Linked DNA regions of Homo sapiens: region 2 is linked to region 1. Evidence: promoter capture Hi-C in human tissues and cell types (Jung and others, 2019). All regions are on one chromosome and are shown on one strand. The core of a region is centred on a gene start or on the middle of the fragment in contact, and the rest is flanking DNA. Distances in the headings are between cores, read along the strand shown. Region 1 holds the start of RASD1 (ras related dexamethasone induced 1). Region 2 has its middle 26 kb from the start of MED9.

The links. Contacts are between HindIII fragments. The study calls those that stand out against the background at their distance.
Region 2: a fragment that was not itself captured here is called in contact with the fragment with the promoter of RASD1 in region 1 in 1 of the 25 tissues and cell types used here (mesendoderm cells).

What each region holds. Positions count from the first base shown.
Region 1 is chr17:17,494,684-17,500,520 of GRCh38, reverse strand. It overlaps RASD1 (ras related dexamethasone induced 1), which reads left to right and starts at 4,126. Exons shown (of 2, transcript NM_016084.5): 1 at 4,126-4,625; 2 at 4,837-5,837. The coding sequence starts at 4,340. The coding sequence ends at 5,396. RefSeq lists silencers at 3,406-3,635, 3,686-3,815, 3,976-4,195. The HindIII fragment of the contact is 34,145 bases long and covers 1-5,837 here.
Region 2 is chr17:17,448,199-17,453,990 of GRCh38, reverse strand. No RefSeq gene overlaps it. Among named protein-coding and RNA genes, the nearest start is that of MED9, 26 kb to the left of the region's middle. RefSeq lists an enhancer at 3,399-3,900. The HindIII fragment of the contact is 3,536 bases long and covers 200-3,735 here.

The DNA of each region.
Region 1 (5,837 bases), core at 2,877-5,376:
GTCAAGTGGGCCTCTCTGAGGAGGTGGCATTTGAGCCAAGACCCAACTTCAAGAAGAAGCAGGAGGGAGGAAGAGCCTCCGGGCATCGGGAGTGGCAATGCAAAGGTCCTGAGGTAAAATACAAAAATTAGCCAGGCATGGTGGCATGCACCAGCACTCCCGGCTACTCTGGAGGCTGAGGCAGGGGAATCGCTTGAACCCAGGAGGCGGAGGTTGTAGTGAGCCAAGATCACACCACTGCACTCCAGCCTGGGTGACAGAGCGAGACCAAGGAAAGGCATGGTGTGGCACTGGGCCAGACGGACACTGCACACACTGACCCTGCGGCCCCTCATGTGTAAAATGGCCATCATAGTCATGACTGCCTTGTGTATAAAGCAGGTGCTCAGGCAGTGCCTCCCTTATCACCCATGGAGCTCCTCAAGGTTTTCTCTTTGCTTTCTAGAATCCAGAATCTGTCTCAGGGCTTGAGGGGCATGAGAGGCGTCCGGTCTGACCATATCCAGTGCCTCCGTCCTGCTCCTGCTTGCACAGGTGCTCACTCCCTCCGCCAGCACCTCTGCACACACGGCCTTTGAGGACATATTGCTGATGGATGGGCTGAGCCGGGCAGCAAAGCTCCGTGCATCCTGACCCTTGGTTCCTGGGGCAGAGCCGGGAGCCTTGGGCTGAACTGGCTTCTGCTGGAAGGGTCTGCTCTGTCGGGTACAGAGCTCATCACTGATGAGGAATCTACCAGAGTTAAAATCTCAGCTTGATGAGGGGAGCCTGTCAGAGGGAACGCAAAGCCAGCTCTATTTGCCCCTTTCCTCCTCTTCAGGAGGTGGCGTACCAGGGCCACACAGGATAGAAGCGTGCCTCAGGGCCTCCTCTGTCCAAGGCGCTGGTAGAGATGGGCTCTGGCCGCACGGGCCAGCACGGCAATGCCCAGGCCCGAGGGTGCTCTGGGTTCCTGTCACCTGAAGTAGCCACTTCTGGCCTTTGTGTGGACTCTGTCTCAGGACACCACAACAGGCAAAGCTCTGATGGGGTGCCCAGCATTCTCCTCTGGCCCAGCTCTCAAGAACCTTCTAATTGCTCTTTGCCCTCAAATGAGGCTGTGTGGCTGGCATTTCCTGCCTGGGGCTGGTGGGGGGGGGGTGGGTCCACCTGCCCACCCCCAGATCACCCCCGACATTGTCAAATATTTTAAACAGTTCCCCTCCCCTCTAAGCAGCAAAATTGCTGCACTGCAGGTAAATACTATTTACAGACAGGCTCATAGCCTCATATACGCTGTTTGTTGTCTCATGCCCCAAACACACAGAAAACAGAATTATTTATTGCATACAGCATGGGACTGTGATCAACCTGGACATCAAATGCCGCGATGGCTGACAGGGCCCAGGCGGCGGGAGTGCTGGGAAGCCCAGTACACGTGCTCCCTCTCTGTGGGACTCCGGGATCCACGGGGCGGATGGTTCTGTGAGTTGCGAGTTGTTCCTGTTTGTCTTCCAGCCCCCAGTCCTCCCCGGCCACTCTGATTAGCCAGCCTAGGGTAGGGCCTGGCATAAAGTCACACAGGCAAACCCCAGAAGAAGGAAAAAGGGCACCTGCATGAACAAAGAGCTGGGTGGCAGAGGCTGCACCGGGGTAAGACTTCCTTCATGCAGTTGGGAGTCCGCCCATGTGGGGACATCAGGAGATGCCACCCCACAGAATTGGTGGCTAGGCTGTCCTGGGTGTGGCCGAGAGAGGCCTGATCCCAGTGCTTCTTTCATTCTGGTCCTTTCTGAAATGGCTTGGGTTTTTAAAAAACCATGAGCATTTATTACTTTTGTAATAAAAGGAAAGAGATGCCCTTTTAAAAGAAAAGACGAGGGCGGAAACAAGGAAGTTGGCTTGCTGCTTGAGGAGTAAAGTCCCAGAGGCCACCTCCTTGACAGGAGGCGCTCTGGGGCATTCAGAATGGGAATGGCAGGTGGGCCTGGGTCTTCACAACCCAGCATCCGTAGGGCAGACGGCCATGCACAGATGGTACCAGGAATCACTGTGGCTGAGGACACAGGCTAGATCAGTGCCTGCCAGTGTCATGTTCCTGATTTAAGGGGCCAGCCTGGACACTGACCAGGGGAGAGCTGGGCTGTGATCCTTGACCCTCGGGCCCTCCACTCATATCAAATGGACCCTCTTGGGACTAGAGCCCCAGGAGGCAATGGCTGTGTGGGGTCCACCTTCACTATAGCCCTGGCCATCAGTCATCCCAAGTTAGAGCCCGGCTGCCCATGCAGTGCCGCTGTGGGAGGCACAGGAAGGCGGTGCTCAGTCTGAAGGTGGTTCAGGTCCGTACCTTAACTGAGCCCCCCCATGTACCCTCAACTGGCTCCTTTATGCAGTGAACACCCTGCACCACTGCAGCCCTATATCCAGGGCTGCGACTCAGTTCCTTCTCCCCTTCTCCCAGACTCTGGCAGACATACCTCAGATGGGGGCAGGAACCAAGAATGGCGGGGCTCCAGCCCCAGCTAGCCTGTCGGATAACTGCTGCATAAGTGACACCAGGAATCAGAGCCAGGCCAGGGCCACTGATGAGCCCTTGGATGCTCACTGTGTGATGCGTGCATTTGAAATATCTGACAGTAAGAGTGAGGCCTGGGAGAGATGCAGGGACTCTGAGGATGGGGGCCAAGCTGGGCTGAGAAACAAGTTAGTGGTGTCCTGCAGCAGCCCCTACAGCAAGTGCCAGCGTGGGAGGGAGGTGGGTAGGCATGGGGTGGGTGGTATGGCACTCACAGCACTGCCTGCAGACCACCACCTGACAGCTGGGCCGGTGGTGCCAGCTAATGGCTCCCTAGTTTTCTCGTAAGTCAGACGTGGCCAAAGCAAAACACTGAGCACACAGGTTGCCTTGAGGAGCAGTGACTGCCTCAAGAGCTCAGGGCTGAGGAGCTGGCTCCAGACAGCCTGTTGCCAATGTTCAGCAACATCACCCCACTCCTGGTTACTGATCGACCTGGTGTGCTCTTGAGAGTACCCCCACCAGGCCTCATGGGTCAATACTACTGTTATTGTTGCTATTGTTATTACCAGGCCCCGCCCTCCTAAAGCATTTGCATATTTTCATCCTTAATCACAGAACCAGAATCAGTATCTTCCAGAAGAGAAAACTGAGGCCCAGGAGAAAGCAAGAGGCTGTGCTGTGCTCCCAGGGCCTTCCTGGCTCGCTGTGGCTTTGAGCTCCAGGTCTCTCAGCTAGACAATGAGAACGTCGGCCCACGCGCGGCACAGTAAAAGCCCAAAATGCTATGATGGACGGGGTGGGCCGCTGGCTGCAGAGCCCTCCATACCACAGAGCATCTCTGGCTGGGAGAAAGGAGCAGGCTGAGGCCTGCAGCAGAGCGCGGGGTTGGGGACCGCTCCTGTTGGGCCCCAGCAAGGCGCCCTGAGACCCCTGCTCCATCCCTGCCGCTCCCCACCCGCCTGCTCCTAGCCTCTGTTCTAGCTCTGCCCGCGGCGGCCACAGCCTCCCCGAGCCGCCGGCCGGGCCCTCTGCTGCCCTCTGGCGGCCCGAGCGCGCGGTGCCGAGCTCCGCGCCTGAGGCCCTGAAACCCCGCGTCCGCCCGGCGGTCGCCTCCCGGGAACAAGAGCCCGGCTGGGGACCGGAGCGGAAGGGGGCTGGGGCTGGGGCTGTGCTCTGAGGACTGCAATATACGGTCCGCGCAAGCACTCAGCAAACGCTGCTGCGCTTACTGGGTTACTTACTAGATTCCTATTCTCTGGGGAAACTGAGAACCAAAGAAAATAAGTGTACGCGCGCGGGAGGTGCAGGAATGGGGGTCCTTGCCCGAAGTCGCAGAGGGACAGGGGCACCGCCGGGACCAGAACCCCGACGCCCCTGCGGCCGCCGAGCCCGCGGCAGTGGAAAAGCGGAGTCCGAGCGCCTCCAGCCTCAGCCCGACCCTGGACTGCTCCCCCCAGCCCCCGCGCCCAGAGAGCAGGAGCCCGGCAGCGGGTGACGAGGTCGCCGGGACTGGGAGCCGGTGCGGGGGAGGCGGGCCCCGCGGGGCGTGACGCACCGAGCTGGGAGGGCCGGGGCGGGGCAGCCGAGCAGGCTGCATATAAGGGCGGCGGCCGGGCGCCAAAGCCAGAGCAAGCGGCCTGTGCCCAGATCCTGGGAGAACCCCAGCCGAGCCCAGCCTAGCCCGAGCCCAGCCCGAGCGGAGCCGGAGCCCCAAGCCCGAGCCGCGCCCAGCCCGAGCAGAGCCCTCCAGCCGCTCACCCCGCGTGCCACCCCAGCGACCCTCAGCCGCTCTCTGCCCTTCTCTCGGCCCCGCGCCCGCCCTCGCGGCCCCTCTGCCCAATGAAACTGGCCGCGATGATCAAGAAGATGTGCCCGAGCGACTCGGAGCTGAGTATCCCGGCCAAGAACTGCTATCGCATGGTCATCCTCGGCTCGTCCAAGGTGGGCAAGACGGCCATCGTGTCGCGCTTCCTCACCGGCCGCTTCGAGGACGCCTACACGCCTACCATCGAGGACTTCCACCGCAAGTTCTACTCCATCCGCGGCGAGGTCTACCAGCTCGACATCCTCGACACGTCCGGCAACCACCCGTTCCCCGCCATGCGGCGCCTCTCCATCCTCACAGGTGAGCCGGGGGCCGGGCAGGTGCGGGAGGGAAGGGCGGGGAACCCTCGGCCAGGGCGCCCCGCGAGCGCCGGTCCGGCTGCCGCGCGCCGAGTAGTGCGCTTCGCGCTTAGAGAGGCTAGCGCGCCCCGCGCGGCCTCAAAGTCAGCCCGACTTGTCCCCTGGGCGGCCACCCTCACCTTCTCCTTTTCTGCTCTCTGTGCCCCCTCTAGGAGACGTTTTCATCCTGGTGTTCAGTCTGGACAACCGCGACTCCTTCGAGGAGGTGCAGCGGCTCAGGCAGCAGATCCTCGACACCAAGTCTTGCCTCAAGAACAAAACCAAGGAGAACGTGGACGTGCCCCTGGTCATCTGCGGCAACAAGGGTGACCGCGACTTCTACCGCGAGGTGGACCAGCGCGAGATCGAGCAGCTGGTGGGCGACGACCCCCAGCGCTGCGCCTACTTCGAGATCTCGGCCAAGAAGAACAGCAGCCTGGACCAGATGTTCCGCGCGCTCTTCGCCATGGCCAAGCTGCCCAGCGAGATGAGCCCAGACCTGCACCGCAAGGTCTCGGTGCAGTACTGCGACGTGCTGCACAAGAAGGCGCTGCGGAACAAGAAGCTGCTGCGGGCCGGCAGCGGCGGCGGCGGCGGCGACCCGGGCGACGCCTTTGGCATCGTGGCACCCTTCGCGCGCCGGCCCAGCGTACACAGCGACCTCATGTACATCCGCGAGAAGGCCAGCGCCGGCAGCCAGGCCAAGGACAAGGAGCGCTGCGTCATCAGCTAGGAGCCCCGCCGCGCTGGCGACACAACCTAAGGAGGACCTTTTTGTTAAGTCAAATCCAACGGCCCGGTGCGCCCCAGGCCGGGAGCGCGCGCGGACTGGCGTCTCCCCTCCCGGCGATCCGCCCCCAGCACTGGGGAGGCGCCACTGAACCGAGAAGGGACGGTCATCTGCTCCGGAAGGAAAGAGAACGGGCCAAGACTGGGACTATTCCCCACCCCCGGTCCCCCATTGAGGCCCGCCACCCCCATAACTTTGGGAGCGAGGGCCCAGCCGAGGGTGGATTTATCTTCTCAAAGACCTAAGAGTGAGCGCGGGGTGGGGGAGGGATGTGAAGTTATCCAGCCTCTGCTAGGCTTCAAGAAACCGTCATGCCCGCTTGAGGGTCAGGACCCACGGGGCATTATCTTGTCTGTGATTCCGGGTTGCTGTGACAGCCGGTAG
Region 2 (5,792 bases), core at 718-3,217, 44 kb after region 1:
TTTCCTCAACGAGGTGACATTTGAGTCATGGCCCAAATGTTGAGAAGCCACATTCAAGGAAAGAGGAAGCTGGAGGTGAGGGACCCATGGAGAGTGGCCCGCGGAGTGAGGGGAGAGGCCCTGGAGCTCACAGCTCAGAGGTCATTGTTAATGGGACGCAGCTGCAAGGTGCAGGGCGTTGAACGCACAATACTACTATAGCTGTTGGATTGCTTTGCTCTTCATTAGGGACCTCCACAAACATTACCTCATTTTCATTTTGCTCCTCACAACAGCCCTGGGAGTTTGAACAAATGAGATTCAGGAATTGACGCAGTCCACATTATCAATAAATAAAATGAACCCTCATAGCCCTCTCGATCTGTAGTTTTTAAATGAGGACACTTCTTTCAAAAGATTTGCTTCACTCTAAAAAATCCTATGAAATTAGTGTTTGTCTGTAATTAGGGCAGTTGCAACTGAACATCACAGCATCAGCTATTGTCTGTTTCCGAGCTCAATAATAGACTGTTCGGATTTGAATAAGGCCCACTTGCCTTGGTCCAAATGGCAAGATTTATGTTAAATTGAATTTTGGAGGCTGCATTCGTGTGTGACAGTTGACAGGGAAAAGCAGCCAACGCAAACAGCCCTCCCGGCTCCATCCAGCCTGACCCAGTTAGGCAACATAGGGGTGACCACAAACCTGAACACTGGCGACAAGGGGCAGGCACCCAATGGGCTGTAAGTAAGGGCACCAAGTCCCTGGAACCCAAGAAGGCTGCACCTACGAAGGAAAAGCTCAAATGACAAACGCCAGAATAGACAGACACCCCATCACGGCAGCCTGAGCCCAGCTTTGTTCTTAAGGCCTACTTCCAGGCTTGTACAAGAAATGGCGAGATGAATTTTCTCTCCCAATCTAGTTGCTTACTTGGGCTGTGGCTTGCATTCTCCAGACCCAATCAAACAGCACTGATTTTTTTTTTTTTTTTTTTTTTTTTTGAGACAGAGTCTTGCTCTGTTGACCAGGCTGGAGTGCAGTGGCTCAAACTTGGCTCACTGCAACCTCTGCCTCCCAGGTTCAAGTAATTCACTTGCCTCAGCCTCCTAAGTAGTTGGGGACTACAGGCATGCACCACCACACTTGGCTAATTTTTTTTTTTTTTTTGGTGGAGATGGGGTTTCACCATGTTGCCCAGGCTGGTCTCAAACTCCTGACCTCAAGTGATCCGCCCACCTCAGCCTTCCAGAGTGCTGAGATTAAAGGAGTGAGCCACTGCGCCTGACCAGCACTGATTATTCTTAAAGTCCAATGAAAGGGCCAAGATTTGTGTGCAAGTCTGTACATGCAGGCAGGCGGTGGTGGTGGGATTGAGAGTCTAAGAGGTAAACCTTGCCAGGGGCCAGCGGGGCTTTGTTGGGAAGCACTGCTTTAAATACATAGCAGCAACCACATTCTGAGTACCTTCCATGTGCCAGACCCTGAAAAAGCTTCTCTCACATGAGGTATTTAATTTAATTTTTAAAGTAGTATATTCAATAGCAAGCAAAGATCACCACTACAAGCCAGGCATCGTTCTAGGCATTGGGGAGACAGCAGCAACGGAGAAGACTTCCAAGAAGGCTTGCTTTTGGTGGGACTTCTAAAAGGGGAAGATAAAGACAACATTTAAACAAAAACATAACTTCAGATGGTGAAATTAGAAGCCCTGGGTTGATTCTCAGATACACTCTTGCGGCAGAGACTGCCTAGTTGTTCCCCATTATCGAGGCTCTTCTATAGCAGCAGAACCCCAAGTTTTACCTGCATGCATAGTCACTTAGGACCCAGACTTTATTCTCCCAGCCTCTCTTTCTGCTAGGTGAAGCAATTGACTAAATTGCAGCCAATGAGATGTAAGCTGAAGCCGTATATACAATTTTAGGAAGTGTCCCCTACAGGGACAGGGTGGGACCTTCCTCCCTTTACTTGTTTTGTTTGTTTGTTTTTGTTTTGAGACAAAGTGCAAAGTGTCACTCTGTCACCCAGGCTGGAGCACAGTGGTTTTTTTTTTTTTTTTTTTTTTTTTTTGAGACGGAGTCTCGCTCTGTCACCCAGGCTGGAATGCAGTGGCGCGATCTTGGCTCACTGCAACACTGCAACCTCCCGTTCAAGCAATTCTCCTGCCTCAGCCTCCTGAGTAGCTGGGATTACAGGTGCACGCCATCATGCCTGGCTAATTTTGCATTTTTTGTGGAGATGGGGTTTCACCGTGTTGGCCAGGCTGGTCTCGAACTCCTGACCTCAAGTGATCCACCTGCCTCGTCCTCCCAAAGTGTTGGGATTACAGGCGTGAGCTACTGCGCCTGGCCCTTTCCCTCCTTTTTGCTGCCTAGAATATGGACACAACGGCTGGAGCTTCAGCAGCTATCTTGGACCATGAAGGAAAAATAAACAATTTTGTTTAGTTCATGGTGCTCTGGAGTTCGATTTTTGTTATTCACAGCTGCACCTAATTTTGTTGTCTTTCCTATTAATTGTGTAACTTGGGGTAAAACTGGCTCAGACCTTCTGTTCCCTCAGCTGTGAGATGGGATTGATGATAATGCCTACTTCATATTGCACTATGCTGGTGGCTTTCAAACTTCAGCATGCGTCAGAATCCCCTTGGCATGTTAAAACACAGAATGCTGGGCCCCACCTGAAGAACTTCCGATTAAGTAGCAACCTGAAAACCAGTAAGTCTAACAAGTTCCTAGATGCTGTTGCAGCTGCTGCAGATCAGAGACTACACTGAGGCCTGCAGTCCCTGCAGGGAATGACCTAGGAAGGTCTAAATTGCCCATACAAAGCCAGCGTGTTTGGCTTCTCTCCCATTTAACAAGATTTATGCATCCTGTCAAATATGCTGCCAGTCACCTCTGGCCTCTTCTATGCCTGCTCCTTGGCTTCAGGGACCCTGATCCCCACTTTCTGGAGCAGTGAATCTGATGCAAATGCTGTTTACAGAGGGATCTGTCAGTGGCCCATCCCCAGGAGGGACTTCCATGTGACAAGCCCGGCCTCTGACCCACTCCTCCACTGCAAGGAAATGATCCCCACTCCAATGCGTCACAGAGCAGCCCATCGCATGGGTCATTCCGCAGAAGAACTACCTTCTGGACCCTTCCTTCTGCCACCATATGCCATTCTGCTATTTGCAGAGGTGAGTGGGTAGGGACAGCTCTTCACCAGGGGCTGCCAGACAGTCAGTCAGAAGCATCATTTTCTTACTTAGGATTCCCATGGGAGGCAGAGGGTGAATCTCAAGGCTGGGATCCCTGTCTCCACTGGCCGCTTCAGCAATGCCCAGACCACCGCTCTGCCCAGCGAAGGAGCCTGCCCTCTCCTCCGAAAGGAAGCTCCCCTGCCCTCAGGGAGGAGCCTCCCTCTGGAAGGGCTGCTGCCAGGAGCAGTGGCAGCCCAGGAGGCTTCCCCCTCCCTCATATCCCTCTTGGAAGGGACTGATCCTCCTCTCAGGGCTCCTGCATGCTGGCGACATCCCAAGCCCTGCCCAGGACAGCACCATCAGTGCAGCTCTCAGTCCCCCGCCCCAGCCATTTCCATCAAGGGGGTGGGTATTATCTGTTAAACCGCTGTGCGGCATCAGGCAGGTCTAAGGGGCGGAGATGCACTTGTGTCCCTTAACTAGTGGTTAAGAGGACAGCTCTGATCAAATCCCAGCTCTGCTACTCTTTAGTGACATGGCCTTGTAACTAAGGCCGCAGCTGTGCCTGGCCTGTGGCTGAACCTCTCTCTGAACCTCAGTTTCCTCCTCTGTAAAGTGGGGACAATAGTAGTGCTTATAAATGGCATCAACCAAGGTGCTTAGCTGTAAACAACATAGACCAACTCTGCTCACTTTAGCAGAAGCATTTCTTAAGAGGGTATTGGGTACACACTGGTGCCAAAAGACAGGCATAAGAATAGAATATTCCTAGCAGCACCATTCAAACATCAAATGTCCATTCACAATAGAACAGGTAAGCTGGTTACGGCCCTTCACACCAGACAGCACGGAGGATGGAGAAACCTCAGCTACGTACAGCAGCATGGATGACTCTCACCCACGCTAACTCAAAGAAGCCAGACACGAAAAGGGTGTGCACTATATCATGCTGTTTCTATAAAGCTCAAAAACAAGCAGAACCAATCTAGAAATCTGGTGGTGGTTATGTTTGGGAGGAGAGACCCTGGGAGAGTCTCTAAGGTGCTGGCCCTGTTCTATTTCTTGGTCTGGGTTCTGATTACATGAGTGTGTTTGCTTTGTCAAACTTCATTGAACTGCACACTTAGGATCTGTGATCTTTTCTGTATGTATCTGATACTTCAATAACAAAATTAACTTTGAAAAAAAGCAGAAGGCATGTTTGGTTGCTCATGGATGTGCTGGGAGAATCAGAGAGCTAGGCCTGAAAGCCAGAGTCCAGAACACTGCCCCTAATTTTTTTTTTTTTTTTTTTTTGAGATGGAGTTTTGCTCTTGTGACCGAGGCTAGAGTGCAGTGGCACCATCTCTGCTCACCGCACCTTCCACCTCCCAGGTTCAAGCAATTCTCCTGCCTCAGCTTCCTGAGTAGCTGGGATTACAGGCTCCTGCCATCACACCCAGCTAATTTTTGTATTTTTGGTAGAGACAGGGTTTCACCATGTTGGCCAGGCTGGTCTCGAACTCCTGACCTCAGGTGATCCGCCCGCTTCGGCCTCTCAAAGTGCTGGGATTACAGGCATGAGCCACCGCGCCTGGCCAACACTGCCCCTAATTAAGGCATGGAGCTGTTTCAAGGGAGGAAAAGGTGGCAGGCGTTGCAGCCAGAGGGGCTGGTTCAAATCCCAGCTCTGCCAGTCCTTAGTTATGGGACTTTGGACAAGTCTCTGGATCCCTCTGAGCTGTGTCCTCATCTGTACGATGGGGTGCCAGCCCACAGCTTATCCCACCACTGTCCACACTGGCACTGCCTGTTATCATGCCTGGCAGAATGGATCCCGGATGGTACCTGCCCCTTCACAGCTGAGCTCAGGGTGAGCACATCTGATTGGCCAGCCCTGGGCACATGACCACACTACACCCTGCAGCATGTGGAGGTCAGTGCGAAGCTGGGTGCAGGGTCTGGCTCAGGGGTTCCATGGAGCCCCAGGGTGGGCTTTACCCGCCAAGATTCTGACTTACCTGATCTGGGGAGAGTCTGGAATGTGGCTGTTCTTTTTAAGCTCCCCAAATGATTCTAGTGTGAGTCAAAGTTGAGAACCACTGCCCTGAATCTTTATCTTTGAATCCTGAAAACTTTCTAAAAGGAAAACGATCCCAGAACCTTCAGAGTTTCTGTCCATTCGAATCTAGTACTAGTATACCTCGTTTGAAATTAACCTCATCTAGCGCCATCTAAGCTCAGAAAATGAAGCCATTGTGGGATCATTTGCCAAAGGACTTGTTGACATCTGTTTTTATTCTTTTTTATTTTATTTCATTTTTCTTTTATTTCCTTTTTTGTTTCTTAATCCGAGTGAACTCATAAAGTCTGTTTTTAAGTGGTACTTAAGCAGTTAAAATATGACTCAGTTTGACTCCATTGAAACTGCTTTAAATAATTTCCAAACAAGATGAAGTTAAGAGTAAATAAAATAGTCACGTTTGGGAGCATGAAGGAGCCGGCAGCTTTTGACGGTCTGGTGATCAGGCAGCCACGCAGGACCAGGTCTCGACTGTCCTTGGGTTTTGTGGAGCATTAAAAAGGAATAAGGAAATGGGGTGGAGGAGGTCAGCTAATTCTGGGAACAAAGCTAAGACTGCT